Regions from separate parts of the Homo sapiens genome. Here region 1 is linked to region 2. Evidence: promoter capture Hi-C in 16 types of primary human blood cells and fetal thymus (Javierre and others, 2016). All regions are on one chromosome and are shown on one strand. The core of a region is centred on a gene start or on the middle of the fragment in contact, and the rest is flanking DNA. Distances in the headings are between cores, read along the strand shown. Region 1 overlaps ZKSCAN1 (zinc finger with KRAB and SCAN domains 1). Region 2 holds the start of ZNF394 (zinc finger protein 394).

Region 1 (5,586 bases), core at 3,003-5,502, 520 kb after region 2:
TACGGGCCAGTGCTAGGCGGATTGGAGGCGGTCAATAAATACTTGTTGAATTGAATTGTGGAGAATTCATTGTAACCACATCAGCAAAGCACTGTTAGTATATATGCTGAACAAATGTGGAGAAATCGCTGTTTTACATAGGAAACCATGGTGATTTGCCCCAGAATGTGTATCCAGGTTTGTATCTTCTCTGAATTAACATATAAGATTCTTGTTTATTATTTCAGGCAGTTTTCACCACTCTTAAAATACAAACGAGGAAGCTAGCTACTTAGTCTTTTGCTCATTCTCGATTTAAAAGCATTTAAAATACAGATGAATAGCATATTAAATCTAACATTTTCATTCTGTGGGAGTATCAATATTCTTTGAATAGCTAGCTGTCTTTTAAGGTAGCTTTTTCATATTAAAACATTTGATTGCTCTTTAAAAAAATGAGTGTAAAGGGCAAAGGGCAATTTATTTAAAAAAAAATTTTTTTTTTTTTGAGACAGAGTCTTGCTCTGTCGCCCAGGCTGGAGTGCAGTGGTGCGATCTCGGCTTACTGCAACCTCTGCCTCCCGAGTTCAAGCGATCCTCCTGCCTCCGCCTCCCGAATAGCTGGGACTACAGGCATGTGTCCCAAGGCTTGGCTGATTTTTGTATTTTTAGTAGAGACAGAGTTTCGCCATGTTGGCCAGGCTGGTCTCGAACGCCTGATCTCAGGCAGTCCGCCAACCTCAGCCTCCCAAAGTGCTGGGATTACGGGCGTGAGCCACTGTGTGCCCAGCCTTTGTTTACATTTTCAAGACTATGCCCTGGAAAAATACTGGGCTGTTTGGAACACAGCCTTTGAGCTTGTAACTTCAAGCCGTTGTTTAAGAAAATCATTTCTGTTTATCCTAGGTGAGAACTGAGGTATCCTTAGCTGCTGGAGGTAATTTTATTTAAAGTGGATGGTATGTCAGTATGTTTTTCAGCCCATATTCACCCAGAGGTAGTTTCCTACTATCTGGAACCCCCACCCTACCCCCATTTGACTGATAAAGATACAAAATGCCAGAGAAGTTAAATACCTCTCTCAGGGATGTGCCACTTACTTGTGGGAGACTAGAATTCAGTTATTGCCTGTGCAGCTTTCACTATTACAGGAGTTGTCCCATTGCTTAATCTTCTAAGCAGGCTGAAAATTGGAATGTACAGTTACATCTTTTAAGCTTATTGAAAAAAATTAAGACATTTCTGTAGTGCCTACTAAATGCCAGGCACTATTTTAAGTGCTTTATATCTATTACCTCATTTAATCCTCACGGCAACTCTATGGGACAAATGCTGATTTTTATTCCCATTATACAGATGAGGAAACTGACGCATAGAGAGGTTAACTTGTTGACTTGCCTAAGGCCGTCAACTAGTAAGGGGTGGAGCAGCTTTAATGCTAACCTGAAACTCATCCAACTAGTCCATGGAACAAATTTGAGTGCAACATTGAATGTAGAATGATCGGGCTTTTAAAAAATAGTAACGTTGTCAATTCAGTCAAGTGTATTTTTGAAACTGAGGCTTGCAAGGAATCATGCTAAGTGGTCTAAGGAGTACAAAGAGGACTGCTCTTAATAATCTAGTTGAGGAAGAAGGCAAGAAAAATTACAGAGAAAGAAACATCATGAGAAATTTTTTTTTTTTTTTTGAGACAGAGTCTCGCTCTGTCACCCAGGCTGGAGTGCAGTGGCGCAATCGCAGCCTCCCGGGTTCACGCCATTCTCCTGCCTCAGCCTCCCAAGTAGCTGGGACTACAGGCGCCCGCCACCACACCCAGCTAATTTTTTATATTTTTAGTAGAGACGGGGTTTCATCGTGTTACCAGGATGGTCTCGATCTCCTCACCTCGTGATCCGCCCACCTCAGCCTCCCAAAGTGCTAGGATTACAGGCATGAGCCACTGCGCCCGGCGCATCATGAGAAATTACCTAGCAAATGTTTGGTGAAGAGTATTAGGGCCTTTAGAGACAGAAGAGTATGTGCTCAGATCATCTGGGAAACCTCAAATAAAACCCAGCCTTTCCACTGCTGTGATGGCTTTTCCCTGCACCCCAGAGTAGGAGCAGAGAGATACTGAAGGTGAGGAGGAGGATCTGTCCCAGTTGTGGGCAGAGGGAATGTGCCCATGTCTGTGTCTATTTCCCCCTGGACTCATTTCCTCCTTAGAGTCGCATCTTCGCACTGACCCAAGAAGTGTCCTGCTCAATAGCTAAGGCAGGATAAAACTTTCACAAAAGTAGGGATTTCTGGTGGCTGGGCTCGCTATCACACTAGTTCTGCTCAGTTACCATGTTTGAAGATCCCACCTGGTTATGTTGTAGACAGTCCCCACTTGAATCTTCTGCTGTGTCTCCTCCCTTTCCCAGGAAGGGCTTCAGTCACATAGTGACCCTCCAGTGAAAACTGGGTGGTAGATAAGGCCCGTTCCTGAGTGATTTTTTTTTCTCTTTGAGAAGGAGTCTCTCTCTGTCACCCAGGCTGGAGTGCAGTGGCGCGTTCTCAGCTCACTGCACCCTCCACCTCCCAGGTTCAAGTGATTCTCCTGCCTCAGCCTCCCGAGTAGCTGAGATTACAGGTATGTGCCACACATCCAGCTAATTTTTGTATTTTTAGTAGAGACGGGGTTTCGTCATGTTGGCCAGGCTGGTCCCGAGCTCCTCAGCTCAGGTGATCGACCCTCCTTGGCATCCCAAAGTGCTGGGATTACAGGCGTGAGCTACCGTGCCTGGCCCTGATTGATTCTTCATTGTCACGTTCATAGGCCTTCATTTTAGGATCTGTATACCCCACATGTCAGGTACAAGATAAATTTTGTATAATGGTTAAAGAGTTTACATTGGGGAATCACTTTTATTTCAAATTCTGCCTCTACCATATACTTGCTGTGTGACCTTGAGTAAGTTATTTAATGGCAGTATATCTCAGTTCTTCTTTTGTTTTTTTTTGAGATGGAGTCTCACTCTGTTGCCCAGACTGGAGTGCAGTGGTGTAATCTCAGCTCACTGCAGCCTCCGCCTCCCAGGTTGAAGCAACTCTCCTGCCTCAGCCTCCCGAGTAGCTGGGACTACAGGCATTGCACCACCACACCTGGCTAATTTTTGTATTTTTAGTAGAGATGGGGTTTTGCCATGTTATCCAGGCTGGTCTCGAACTCCTGACCTCAGGTTATCTATCTGCCTTGGCCTCCCAAAGTGCTGGGATGACAGGCATGAGCCGCTGCGCTCAGCCTCTCAGTTCTTTATACAGTGAGATGATAAGTGTAGCTACCTGCTAAGATTGTTATGTGGTCAAGTGAAAATGCTTAAATACCCGGTACCTAGAAAGCACTCAGTAAACATTGGCTCTTACTGTTATAGTTATGAGAGGGTTCTTGAACAGTGATAAGAGGCAAGTCGCGTTTTAGCTAGCTTTAAAGGTTAAGTAGGATTTGAAAAGGCAGAGAGGACTGCGGGGGGAAGTCCCAGGCATGGAGTGTGATGTGAGGAAAGGATGGCAGTCAAAATACAAGGCATATATAGGAAATACTGATGAGAGGGCTTTTGTTGCATAGGGAAGGTTTATGGGGGGATTGATGGGAAAAGAAGCTTGAGGGAAAATTGGGACCAGGCACTGGAAAGTATTAACTGCAAGGCTGTAGAGTTTTAGAAAGAATAATCTGAAAGGTGGATTGTGGGAGAGAAGGGAGAAAATGAAGGCAGGGAACCAAAGAAAGGAAGCTGGACTTCATGGAACTAGATTAAAAAAAATAAGTATGGCCTGTAATCCCAGCTACTCAGGAGGCTGAGGCAGGAGAATTACTTGAACCCGAGAGGCGGATGTTGCAGTGAGCTGAGATCATGCCATTGCACTCCAGCCTGGGCGATAGAGCAAGACTCCGTTTCAATATATATGTATATATAATTTTTGTGCTGTTATATGTACATGATCCCTTTTTCACCAAAATTAAGAATATGTTTAGTGAGAGCCATAAAACTAAAAATGCTTTTGCTAGTTTAAAACTCGGTTTAACCCATCATGATAAAGCAGTTTAATGGTCTGTTTCTAAAACTTCAATTTGATGCTTAGTTTTGATGGCTGTAGAGGTGAAAAGAATAAATTCAGAAAGATTTGTAGCTTCAGATGGAAGAATCACAGTGTCAGTTCTGCTTAGTAACTTGTGATTGATCCAACCTATCAACCATGCTGAATTTTTGTTGTTGAAATGCAGGGTATAGTCTTACAAACTAATCAGGTGGTGGCATTTTATATTTTTAACAAATAGGCTTAAGACCCACCTGAAATTCTTCATTTGAAAGATTTTTAAACAGGTTAGAAAATATTTCCAAGTTTCTTTTTTTTTTCCTTTTTTTTTTTTTTTTTTTTTTGAGATGGAGTCTCACTTTGTTACCCAGGCTGGAGTGCAATGGCGTGATCTCAGTTCACTGCAACCTCAGCCTCCTGGGTTCAAGCGATTCTCCTGCCTCAGTCTCCCAAATAGCTGGGATTACAGGCGCCTGCTACCATGCCCAGCTAATTTTTTGTATTTTTAGTAGAGACGGGGTTTCACGATGATGGCCAAGCTGGTCTTGAACTCCTGACCGCAGGTGGCCCCCTGCTCCCTGCCTCAGCCTCCCAAAGTGCTGGTATTACAGGCATGAGCCACCTCACCCAGCCCCAAGTTTCTAAAATGTGAACATAGATGGGTTTTTCCTGGATACTTGACATCATTTTTGGCAGTTAAATTACATAACAATGGAACCATTTCATACAGCTGTTCCTGTAATTGCCCTTTCTTCACACTTTCTTTAAAGAAGCTGATTACTCATTGGTGACTTTTTCTTTGATTTAGACTGACATTGGTTTTTACCTCCTAATGTGGCTAAAACCTTACTCTAGATAGAAGCTTCATCTGTGCCATTTTCTTCTTGTTCACATCTGTTTATATTATTAGTGTGTCCTGTAATTGCAGTTTCTCTATAAGAATCTTTTTTTTTTTTTTTTTCCTTTTCCTGATAGGGCTTTGCTCTGTCACCCAGGCTGGAATGCAGTGGCGTGATCGTAGCTGACTGCAGCCTCAAACTTCTGGTTTCATGCAATCCTCCCACCTTAGCCTCCTGAGTAGCTGTGACTGCAGACACAGTCCCCATGCCCAGCTAATTTTTTTCTTTTTCATAGGGACAGGGTCTTGCTATGTTGCCCAGGCTGGTCTCAAACTTCTGGCTTCAAGCATCCTCCTGCCTCATCCTCCCAAAGGGCTGGAATTATAGGCATGAGCTACCATATCTGGCCACAAGAATCTTTAAAGCTGCTTGTCTCTTTTATGACAGAGTCTCGCTCTGTGGCCAGGATGGAGTGCAGTGGCGCGATCTCGGCTCACTGCAACCTCCGCCTCCTGGGTTCAAGTGATTCTCCTTCCTCAGCCTCCCAAGTAGCTGGGACTACAGGTGCCCGCCACCGCGCCCAGCTAATTTTTCTATTTTTAGTAGAGACAGGGTTTCACCATGTTGACCAGGATGGTCCCGATCTCCTGACCTCGTGATCCGCACGCCTTGGCCTCCCAAAGTTTTGGGATTATAGGCATGAGCC
Region 2 (5,202 bases), core at 649-3,148:
AGGCTATGTGGGGGCCTCACCTACAGCTGTAACATACTATTTCCTTGGCAATATGGCCAAGTATTAAGATCTGATAAACTTGGGTGGTAGACACAGGGGATGGTCATTATCTTTTTTTTATATAGTTTTCTGTATGTATAAAACATTAAAAATGAACCAAAGTAAAAAGCTGAATCTAGCACCTAGCAGTACAGAGGCTCCTGCTTGCGTTACAGAAGGCACCTGAAGGCTCTCAGCCCAAGTCTGGGAATGGCATAGTGGCTCAGGGATGGTAGTGAACCAGCCCTTCACAAACCACACACCGCAATAAACCAGCAGAGCAACAGCACTCACTCGGCGGAACTGTGCTCCCGGAATCCTTCTGCGCACTCTCTCTGCAGAAGTCCCTCCGTGCTGGGTCCAGGCGCTCCCACTCCTCCCAGGTTAGAGACACAGCCGTGTCCTCGAAAGTCACCATCCCCTGGAACAACACAAGAGCCCCATTCAGTACCTGCTGTCCCTGTACAGCACTAACACTCTTCTTGAGTCTTGTACCGACAAGGGAGTTTGGAGAGATCAGAGATAGAGGCTGACATTCTCTTGTAATCCTGAAAAGCCTTTCTGTGGACTATTTACACTAATTTTGGAGGTAGGTAGGAGCAAAATATTTCTTTAACTTATATCACTGTGATGTATGGGAATGGAAATATGATACAGATTAAAAGTAAACAAGGCCGGGCGCGGTGGCTCACGCCTGTAATCCCAGCATTTTGGGAGGCCGAGGCGGGCGGATCACCTGAGGTCAGGAGTTCGAGACCAGCCTGGCCAACACAGTGAAACCCCGTCTCTACTAAAAATACAAAAATTAGCCGGGCGTGGTGGCGGGCGCCTGTAATCCCAGCTACTCGGGAGACTGAGGCAGGAGAATCGCTTGAACCCGGGAGTCAGAGGTTGCAGCGAGCCGAGATCGCGCCATTGCACTCCAGCCTGGGCAACAAGAGTGAAACTCCATCTCAAACAACAGCAAGAACAACAAGAAAAAAAAAAAAAAGAAAAGAAAAAGAAAGAAAACCAGTAATCCGTGTTCGCTTTATGCTGAGGTCTATAACAAGTCATTTCCTGGATGGATCTGTCACTGTGGCCTACAGAAAGGAAGTCCATACACACCCCAATGTTCACACGAAATGTAATAAGGAAGTAAGTTCCGAAACGCAGAGCACCCCTAAACGCCTATTTTCCACACTCCCACCTCCAGAACAGGCCTTTCGCTTCTCACCTGGGATGAGGTTCCATCGAGCGCTCGCTGCAGAGCCCGCACCACGGCCACCGCCTCCTCCCCGCTCTCTGGGCAGTGCTCTCGCACCCAGGCTTGAAGCTCCTCGGGCAGGATGGTGAGGAACTGCTCCAGCACCAGCAGCTCCAGGATCTGCTCCTTGGAGAGCAGCTCGGGTCTCAGCCACCGACGACAGAGTTCTCGGAGCCGGCTCAGCGCCTCTTCCGGTCCAGCCACCTCCTGGTAACGCAGCTGCCTAAAGTGCAGTCGAGAAGTTTCGGGGTCCGGCGAAGCCGCGGGATAGTTGGGCTCCCAACTTCCGGGTGAGTCTTCCTCCACTTTCACGGGCAAAAGTCCGTCGCGTTGGGACGGCGCCGCGTCCTTGGACCTCGCAGCCATCACCCAGGGTCCCAACTCGGCGTCACTGCCGCGCCTCTGGGCGGTCAAGCTGGAATTCATCTTTCTCCGGCATGTGCTGCCCTTCCTGGAGTCTTCTTTTCAGGTGAAGAAAGAGCAAACCCAAGGAACTCATCAGCCGTCAACACCCTCCGGTCCCAAACACCGGGCCCCACCACACCAGGCCCCTCTCCACACTCTCCTTTCCTCAGCTTTGCGCCTACAACTCTCTCGGTCAAACAACCGAAAACATCCCGTGCCGGAAGCGCGTCATCGAGGCCTTGCGGCACCTTTCCCTGCATTTCCGGGGCCTCTCTAGGCGCCTGATGGGGTGAGGTGCATCTCGCTGGTTTATCGTCCTAGCCCCGCCCGACGCAGAGGGTCTTGACGGTTTCCCGCATCCCGAGGAAATACGGGCGTCCGAGCCGGTGGCCGAGCTCCGGCAAGGGCGGGAACCTTCAGGATTAAATAGACAGGGTCTGGCTCTGTCGCCCAGGCTGGACTGCAGTGGCGCGATTTCGGCTCACTGCAACTTCTGTCTCCCGGGTTCAAGCAATTCTCCAGCTTCAGCCTCCCAAGTATCTAGGACTACAGGTGCGCGCGACCACGCCCGGTTTATTAATTTTTCTGTGGGGATGGGGTTTCATTATATTGCCCAGGTTGGACAAAGTTGTTTTTTTTTCTTTTTTCAGGCGGACTCTCGCTCTGTCGCCAGGCTGTCTTAGCCTCCTGAGTAGCTTGGACTACAGGCGCGCGCCACCATGCCCGGCTACTTTCTGTATTTTAGTAGAGATGGGGTTTCACCATGTTGGTCAGGCTGGTCTGGAACTCCTGACCTCGTGATCCGCCTGCCCCGGCCTCCCAAAGTGCTGGATTACAGGCGTGAGCCGCTGCGCCCAGTTGGAAAAAGTTTTGTTTTTTTTTTAAAACTAAGTGCTTCCATGTACATCAGATGTTAACGACTTTGATCCTAACAAACAAACAAAAAAGATGAGGAAATTGAGGCTCAAAGATGTGTCCTGGCCTGGCTCAGTGGCGTATGCCTGTAATCCCAGCATTTTGGGAGGCTGAGGGGGGAAGATCGCTTGAAGCCAAGAATTGGAGACCCCAATGTCTACAAAAAATAAAAAATTAGCTGGGTGTGGTGGTGCACACCTGTAGTCCCAGTGAGAGGTGAAGCTAGTTGGACTTCCTGGGTCCAGTGGGGACTTGGACAACTTTTCTGTCTTACAAGAGGTTTGTAAAAATGCACCAATCAGCGCTCTGTAGCTAGCAAGAGGTTTGTAAAATGCACCAATCAGCGCTCTGTAAAATGGACCAATCAGCAGGATTCTAAAAGCAGCCAATCGCAGGGAGGATGGAAAAAAGGGCGTTCTGATACGACAGAAACGGACATGGGAGGGGACAAATAAGAGACTAAAAGCTCCCACCCCAGTCAGCGGAGGCAACCGGCTGGAGTGCTCTGCCATGCTGTGGAAGGTTTGTTCTTTCGCTCTTCACAATAAATCTTGCTGCTACTCACTCTTTGGGTCCGTGCCATCTTTAAGAGCTGTAACACAGTGAAGGTCGGAGGCTGCATTCTTGAAGTCAGCGAGAGGATGAACCCACTGGAAGGAACCAACTCAGGATACACCACTTACTTGGGAGGCTGAGGTGGGAGGATCCTTTGAGCCCAGGAGGTAAAGACTGCAGTGAGATATGATCGCACCAGTGCACTCCAGCCTGGGTGACAGAGCAAGACTCTGTCTCTAAAACAAAGTGTCTTGGTTGATGTCAAGCTGCTGGTGATTTGCAACTTGCATAAAATGAGACGATCGCTTGAGACCAGGAGTTCCAGGCCAGCCTGAGCAACATAGAGAGGATGTGTCTCCATATAAAAATAAAAAAATTTTTTTTTGAGAGGGAGTATCGCTCGGGTTCAAGCGATTCTCCTATCTCAGCCTCCCAAGTAGCTGGGATTACAGGCGCGTGCCACCACACCCAGCTAATTTTTTGTATTTTTAGTAGAGACGGGGTTTCACCATGTTAGCCAGGATGGTCTTGATTTCCTGACCTCGGCTCACTGCAACCTCTGCCTCCTGGGTTCAAGCAATCCCCCTCCCCACCCCACGCCCAAACAAACCGAACACTATTTATCAATCCAGGTGTGTTTAATAACTAGACATAAAAATATCTCTTATGGAGCCAGGTGCGGTGGCTCACGCCTGTAATCCCAGCACTTTGGGAGGCCGAGGCGAGGGGATCACCTGAGGTCGGGAGTTCAAGACCAGCCTGACCAACATGGAGAAACTTCGTCTCTACTAAAAAATACAAAATTAGCCGGGCATGGTGGCGCATGCCTGTAATCGCAGCTACTCGGGAGGCTGAGGCAGGAGAATCACTTGAACCCAGGAGGCAGAGGTTCACTAAGCCAAGATCGTGCCATTCACTCCAGCCTAGGCAACCAGCAAAACCATCTCAAAAAAAAAAAAAAAAAAAAAAAAAAAGGAAACTAGTCATCTTGGCTATCTCTAGAGAGAAAAATGAATGTAGAATGAGAATGAGAGGAAGACCTTAAGTGCCTTATTGAATTTTGACTCATGCAAATGTGTTATCTATTTAAGAAATAAATTATTGAAATGCAAAAGGTGTTTATAAATAATTCAAACCGGTTGCGGTGGCTCACGCCTGTAATCCCAGCACTTTGGGAGGCCGAAGCAGGCAGATCACGAGGTCAGGAGATGGAGACCATCCTGGGTAACACGGTGAAACCCCATCTCTACTAAAAATACAAAAAGTTATCCAGGTGTGGTGGCACACACCTGTAATCCCAGCTACTCAGGAGGCTGAGGCAGGAGAATCGCTTGAACCCGGGAGGCGGAGGTTGCAGTGAGCCGAGATCATGCCACGGCACTCCAGCCTGGGCGACAGAGTGAGATTCCGTCTCAAAAAAATAAATAGATAAACAAACAAATAAATAAATCATTTAAATGGAGGTAAATATATTAGAAAAGAATGGGTATCCACCAAACATTTTTTTTTTTGAGACGGGGTGTCTCTGTCACTGAGGTGCTGAAGTGCAATGGCACAATCATAACTCACTGCAGCCTCAACCTCTTGAATTCAAGTGATCCTCCAGTCTCAGCCTGCTGAGTAGCTGAGACTATAGGCATGTGCCACCATGCCTAGCTAATTTTATTTTATTTTTTGTAGAGACGGGGTAAAAAGGCCAGGCTGGTCTTCAACTCCTGGATTCTAGTGATCCTCTCACCTCGGCCTCCCAAAATGTTGGGATTACAGGCGTGAGCCACCATGCCCATCTGGAACAACTTTCATAGACATTAAACAACTTTATACGAGCAACAAAATTAAGCCATAGGTGCAAAATTCTATACCAACTCACTAACACACAAAATACGGGCATTGCAAACATTCACCGGGGGTTTGGTCCTAGATAGGAAGCTACTTAAAATGCAAGATTTTGGGCTCCCTGAAAAGAGACCTTTAACTTCTAAATATCTTCTCATCTTTTTGCAGATGCTGCAATTTCACAGCAGTTCCTTCCTTCGCGCCTG

Evidence for each region. Contacts are between HindIII fragments. The CHiCAGO score rates a contact against its expected background, and 5 or more counts as called.
Region 1: a contact is called between a fragment that was not itself captured here and the fragment with the promoter of ZNF394 in region 2, in 1 of 17 cell types (erythroblasts). The highest score is 7.2, in erythroblasts.

The regions. Positions count from the first base shown.
Region 1 is chr7:100,016,754-100,022,339 of GRCh38, forward strand. The region is part of intron 1 of ZKSCAN1 (zinc finger with KRAB and SCAN domains 1); the gene reads left to right. Among named protein-coding and RNA genes, the nearest start is that of ZKSCAN1, 4.0 kb to the left of the region's middle. The HindIII fragment of the contact is 1,298 bases long and covers 3,604-4,901 here.
Region 2 is chr7:99,498,383-99,503,584 of GRCh38, forward strand. It overlaps ZNF394 (zinc finger protein 394), which reads right to left and starts at 1,899. Exons shown (of 3, transcript NM_032164.4): 1 at 1,256-1,899; 2 at 334-460. The coding sequence starts at 1,711. RefSeq lists enhancers at 339-1,007, 1,230-1,509. The HindIII fragment of the contact is 23,896 bases long and covers 1-5,202 here.